2 separate regions of the Homo sapiens genome follow, and region 1 is linked to region 2. The links are contacts of gene promoters, found by promoter capture Hi-C in human tissues and cell types (Jung and others, 2019). All regions are on one chromosome and are shown on one strand. The core of a region is centred on a gene start or on the middle of the fragment in contact, and the rest is flanking DNA. Distances in the headings are between cores, read along the strand shown.

What was found. The method cuts DNA at HindIII sites, captures the fragments that hold promoters and counts their contacts. A contact is called where the count stands out against the background at its distance.
Region 1: a contact is called between a fragment that was not itself captured here and the fragment with the promoter of OR1K1 in region 2, in 1 of the 25 tissues and cell types used here (hippocampus).

The regions. Positions count from the first base shown.
Region 1 is chr9:121,724,249-121,727,155 of GRCh38, forward strand. All of the region lies in intron 3 of DAB2IP (DAB2 interacting protein), which reads left to right. Among named protein-coding and RNA genes, the nearest start is that of DAB2IP, 74 kb to the left of the region's middle. The HindIII fragment of the contact is 4,977 bases long and covers 1-2,907 here.
Region 2 is chr9:122,798,227-122,801,622 of GRCh38, forward strand. OR1K1 (olfactory receptor family 1 subfamily K member 1) reads left to right here and starts at 1,897. Exons shown (of 1, transcript NM_080859.1): 1 at 1,897-2,847. The coding sequence starts at 1,897. The coding sequence ends at 2,847. The HindIII fragment of the contact is 19,122 bases long and covers 1-3,396 here.

The DNA of each region.
Region 1 (2,907 bases), core at 369-2,868, 1.1 Mb before region 2:
GGAGCACCTGACTACCTTTCCAGTTGCACTTCCCCCACCCCTCCCCGTTCCCTGCCCCACGAGTGCTCCAGCATACATCTTTGTCCTTGTTCCCTCTTCTTCTCTTCCTGGAACATTCTTTGTTCAGATACCTGTGTGGCTTGCTGCCCCACTTCATTCAAGTGTGAATCCAACCACCCGGTCAAACACAGCCCCCTCCCATCCTCTAGCCAGGACCTGGCTCTGCATTTGTCTCTAGCTGTTGAGTTCACCTGATGTTGTTACATACTTCGTGTACTTTTCCCACACTCTAGACTGTACGCCACATGCAAGTAGAACATTTATGTCTTGTACCCTGATGTGTCTCTGGCACCTAGAATCGGGCCTGACAGAAAGTTGGTGAATGAACAAACAAACATTTAATTGTACCCCATAATGTGGACACATTGCTGTCTACATTTTACAGATGGGGAAACTAGACTCAAAGAAGAGGTGGATTGACTAGCCCAATGTCATACAGCTGCAGCGGGACAGAACCAGGATTTTAGCCCAGTGTCTGTGGCCTCTGAGCCCTGTCTCAGCCAGTAGACACTCCCACCTCCCCAGAATCTAGGATGGACAGGAATGGGAGGGGGCCCAAAAAGGTGGGTAGGATTTTACCCTGGGGATTGAGGGGTGAGGCCAAGGAGGGGGTGAACCATGAGGGTCTGAGAGGGCCAGGGGCAGGTCGGGGACTTCAGTGAGGGTCAGGACAGGGAACCCTTGCAAGACAGTCTCTGAGGAGAGCACCCCCGGCACCAGCCACTCCCAAAGACCAGCCGCCTCCAGGCTTCTTGTGCTGGCTTTGGTTCCTGGCACGATTTCTGTTTCCCAGAGGAGCTCAGGCCTGGCCCGGCTTCCCAGGGTGGAGAAACACATGGTGAGTGAGTGTGTGTGCGCGCGTGTGTATGTGTGTGTGTGTCCAGCCTTGCTGTTTGCGTTGTCGTCACGTCTTCTTAATCAGCCTATTTCTGGGAGCGATGACTTCATCTCCTGTGATTCTCGACACAGCCATTGTCAGGCGTCCATGGAAAGATTGGGCCTGGCAGTGTCCATATTCCCCTAACGAGCCAGGTTGGGAGAGCCAATTGGCGGGCCCTGGTCTGACCTGGCTCGGGGGCTTATGGTCAGGTCTATCTCCAAGAGACTCCACTGCCCAGGGTCACCCTTAGATTTGGCCTCTTTGACCCTGGGGTACCCAGTGCAGCAAATTCCAGCCATTGTTTCCTGTGTGCTTCCTCTGTGTACGCTCTGCTGTGGGCAGGGGGTAGGGGACAGTCACGCCAATCTCTGCCCTCAAGGGCTCCTGCTGTCTGACAATGCAGATGAGTCAACAGACCTCACCTTAGAGGGTCTGTGCGTGAACAGAGAAGGGAGTGAGGACTCTACCAGCGCTCAAGGAAGGCTCCACTGAGTTGGTGGTTGGGCCACAGGGTGAAGGTGAAGGTTCCCTTGAGGGAGGGAAAGGGCTTTTGGGCATGCCAGGTAGTTGGGTATCACTGGGCACGGGGCGGCTATGTGTTGGGCCTGGAGAGTGCAAGGAATAGAGGGGAAGGTAGCAGGAAGGCAGCAGGGTATGGACTTGATCCTGAAAGTAGCTGGGAAGGATTTTAAGAAGAGATGGGACCTAGATAGATCAGCGATTTTAGAAGCAAGTCCTTGGCTGTGTGTAAGGGTAGGTGTGGAAAGGTGTGACACTGGGAAATATATACAGTATTTGGTTTCTTGGCACACGACTCCTGAAATCCTTAGATTCTTTAAAGTGATGTCTACTTATTTGCTAATGAGTTGACTGATGGCTGGCAGCCCCTAGGTGGCTTCAGAAAGGGGTCACAGAAAAGACCAAGGCAGGATTAGAGGGTTAGAACTTTCAGCCCACCCCACAGCCCCTGGGGCAGGGAGAGAGGCTGAAGGTTAAGTTAGTCGCCAATGGCTAGTGCTTTAATCAATCATGCCTATGAAATGAAGCTTTTATAAAAACCCAAAAGGACAAAGCTTGGGGAGCTTTCAGATAGCTGAATGCTTGGAGGTTCCTGGAGGGTTCCTAGGGAGGGCATGGAAGCTCCACGCCCCTGCCCACATACCTCTCCCTATGCATCTTTTCATTGGTATCCCTTTATAATAAACTGGCAAACAGAAGTAAATATTTCCCTGAGTTCTGTGAGCTGTTGCAGCAAATTAATCAAACCCAAAGAGGGGTTTATGGGAAACCCAGTTGATAGCCAGTCGGTGGGAAGCACTGGTAAACCAACACGGGGCTTGCAATTGGCATCTGAAGGATGGGGGGATAGTCTTGGGGACTGAGCCCTCAACCTGTGGATCTGATGCTATCTCCAGGTAGATAATGTCAAAATGGAACAAAATTAGAAGACATCTGGGCTGGTGTCTGCTGCCCAACTAATCGCCTGCTTGGTGTGTGGGGACAACCCCTCCCGCCCCCACCACATCTGGTGTTGGAAGTATTCTGCTTTGTGAGAGTATAAAAGGAAAGGGGAGAAACTGAGTTGGGTTTTTTCTACAGAAGGTGTCTGGGACAGGGAGGAAGAAGCTGGCGACTGAGGGCTCAGCCCTGTATTCCCCTTTATCTTCAAGGGGAAGGGTCTCTTTCCCCACCCTACTCCCTCATACTGTACTTCAGGAACTGGTGCCAAGGCCAGCTGAGCTCAGCCAACTGCCAGGAGCTCAGTTCCCCACCCTGGAATGCTGGTGGGCTGGGGATGGGAGGTGGAGAGGAGTAGGGATGTGGGGTGGTCTCTCAAAAATATTGTGCTGGACTTACTGCAGGCTTATGTATAGCTTTGCCTGGAGGCAGGGGGACAGTTGAATGAGTGCCAGCAGGATAAAGCACTCTGAGGGGTGATACCTTGTGTCCTGCTCTTGGCCTGGACA
Region 2 (3,396 bases), core at 647-3,146:
GTTTCCCCTTCCATCCTACCCAATCATCCTGATCCTCTTCCCCTCCAGGAAAGTGAGAAAGAATTAGGGGCTTAAGAAAAGATGCTTTAGAGGAAGCTAACGCCAGAGATTCTTCTTAACCAATGGAGGAAAAAAGGAATACGATAGGGTAGGGAGGTCCTTCATTGATTTTTTTTTAATAGAGAAAGATGTGGAAATAAATTAAAAGATCATTTCCCTGTAAAGGTGGTTTCAGCACAGTCTTCAGCAAACCTGTGCCCTAAAATTCCTCTCAGTTACTTCAATTCTCTTCTTACAGAATTGCCCAAGATTTCTGCAATGAAATTCAGACAGGAAAAAAACTGAGACATTGAAAACAAGTTGCCTCTCTCCTTAAGAGTCAAGTCGCTATGCCTGGGCAGATGTGTCCATCTGTCCACAGGAGTTTCTCACCCTGTGATGTGCATCTGCTTGGTGCTCAGTAAGTGTTTGATTTCATGGGGAAAGTTTTCAGGGATATGAGGAGTCATTCAGATTCTCTTGTTCTTTTTTTGTGTGTGTGTGAGATGGAGTCTCACTGTGCCACCCAGGCTGGAGTGCAGTGGCACGATCTTGGCTCACTGCAACCTCTGCCTCCTGGGTTCAAGATATTCTCCTGCCCCAGCCTCCCAAGTAGCTGGGATTACAGGCACGTGACACCACACCTGGCTAATTTTTGTATTTTTTTTTTTAGTAGAGATGGGGTTTCACCACATTGGCCAGGCTGGTCTCAAACTCCTGACCTCAGGTGATCCTCCTACCTTGGCCTCCCAAAGTGCTGGGATTACAGGCACGAGCCACTGCACCCGGCCTTGTTTTGTGTTTTAAGTCTGAAAATATCTGTATTCTTTACTCACACTTGAGTAGTATTTTTGCTGAGTGAAGAATTCCAAGTTCGAAATGCTTTTTTTCAGAATTTGAATATTGTTAAACTGTTCTATAATCTACTGTTGAATTGAAACATTTGATGGCAATCTAATTACATGGATATCATCAGTTCATTGCACCCCATGCCCTTAGGAAGTACTGGAGTCTCCTCTTCATTTCCAGTGTTCTAAAATTCCACTATTTGTGTCTAGGTGTTGTGAGTTCATATTCATTTCAATGTAAACATATGTGCTCTTCAGATTTTTTTTCTAGAGTTTCTTTCTTATGTTTCTCTCCTCCATCTTGGTTTGGTTTCATTTTTTCTTTTCCAAAATAAATGTCCATTGGCCAGATCTTTCTGTGTCGAACCTCACTCTGTTTCATCTTTTCTTTCATATTTTCCTCCTTCCCTGATCTACATCTTGTGCAATATCTTTTGTTCTATTTTTGCTTAAATCACAAACTATCAAAGTTGGACGTGACCTTGCAGATGAGTTACTTCAATTCTCTTATTTCGCAGGTTGAAAGTCTAAGGCCCCACAAGGTCAGGAGATCGAGAACATCCTGGCTAACACGGTGAAACCCCGTCTCTACTAAAAAATACAAAAAAAATTAGCCGGGCGTGATGGCGGGCGCCTGTAGTCCCAGCTACTCGGGAGGCTGAGGCAGGAGAATGGCGTGAACCCAGGAGGTGGAGCTTGCAGTGAGCTGAGATCGTGCCACTGCACTCCAGCCTGGGCGACAGAGCAAGACTCCATCTCAAAAAAAAAAAAAAAAAAAGAAAAGAAAATCTAAGGCCCAGAAAGGAAGAAGGTTCAGGGAGGTGAAATGACTTGCCCATAGTCATACCTGTGCCTAGGGCCAGGGCTACCTGACTCTAAACTCTTGATATTTTCCCATGGCCAGGAAGCCTTGAACAATTTATCCCCTCACCTTTTCCGTTAGACATCGGGGAGGTGACCCATCAATAGAAAGGAGCCCTTCAGGTTCCAGGCGAATAACCAGCCTGCCATGGAGGCTGCCAATGAGTCTTCAGAGGGAATCTCATTCGTTTTATTGGGACTGACAACAAGTCCTGGACAGCAGCGGCCTCTCTTTGTGCTGTTCTTGCTCTTGTATGTGGCCAGCCTCCTGGGTAATGGACTCATTGTGGCTGCCATCCAGGCCAGTCCAGCCCTTCATGCACCCATGTACTTCCTGCTGGCCCACCTGTCCTTTGCTGACCTCTGCTTCGCCTCCGTCACTGTGCCCAAGATGTTGGCCAACTTGTTGGCCCATGACCACTCCATCTCGCTGGCTGGCTGCCTGACCCAAATGTACTTCTTCTTTGCCCTGGGGGTAACTGATAGCTGTCTTCTGGCGGCCATGGCCTATGACTGCTACGTGGCCATCCGGCACCCCCTCCCCTATGCCACGAGGATGTCCCGGGCCATGTGCGCAGCCCTGGTGGGAATGGCATGGCTGGTGTCCCACGTCCACTCCCTCCTGTATATCCTGCTCATGGCTCGCTTGTCCTTCTGTGCTTCCCACCAAGTGCCCCACTTCTTCTGTGACCACCAGCCTCTCTTAAGGCTCTCGTGCTCTGACACCCACCACATCCAGCTGCTCATCTTCACCGAGGGCGCCGCAGTGGTGGTCACTCCCTTCCTGCTCATCCTCGCCTCCTATGGGGCCATCGCAGCTGCCGTGCTCCAGCTGCCCTCAGCCTCTGGGAGGCTCCGGGCTGTGTCCACCTGTGGCTCCCACCTGGCTGTGGTGAGCCTCTTCTATGGGACAGTCATTGCAGTCTACTTCCAGGCCACATCCCGACGCGAGGCAGAGTGGGGCCGTGTGGCCACTGTCATGTACACTGTAGTCACCCCCATGCTGAACCCCATCATCTACAGCCTCTGGAATCGCGATGTACAGGGGGCACTCCGAGCCCTTCTCATTGGGCGAAGGATCTCAGCTAGTGACTCCTGAGGGCAGGACCCCACTGAGGACAGACTGCATCACCCACACTGGCAACTGTTGAACGTGACCCTCTGTCCTCTGCTATGCTCAAAAATCATAACAGCTGTCATTTCCTGAGCACCTGCCCGGAAGCAGATCCTTGCCTGATCTCATTTTATTCCCACAGCCACCCAGGATGCAGATATTATGATCCGGTTTTACACACAAGAAAATTTGTCTTTAGGCTCAAAGATAAGAAGTGACTTTCCAGCCAGGCACAGCGGCTCACGCCTGTAATCCCAGCACTTTGAGAAGCCGAGGTGGTGGATCACCTGAGGTCGAGAGTTCAAGATCAGCCTGGCCAACATGGCGAAACCCTGTCTCTATTACAAATACCAAAATTAGCCAAGCATGGCGGCGCACAACTGTAATCCCATCTACTCGGGAGACTGAGGCAAGAGAATCACTTGAACCCAAAAGATGAAGATTGAAGTGAGCTAAGATTGTGCCACTGAGCTCCAGCCTGGGCAACAGAGCAAGACTCCATCTCAAAAAAAAAAGAAGTGACTTTCTCAAATT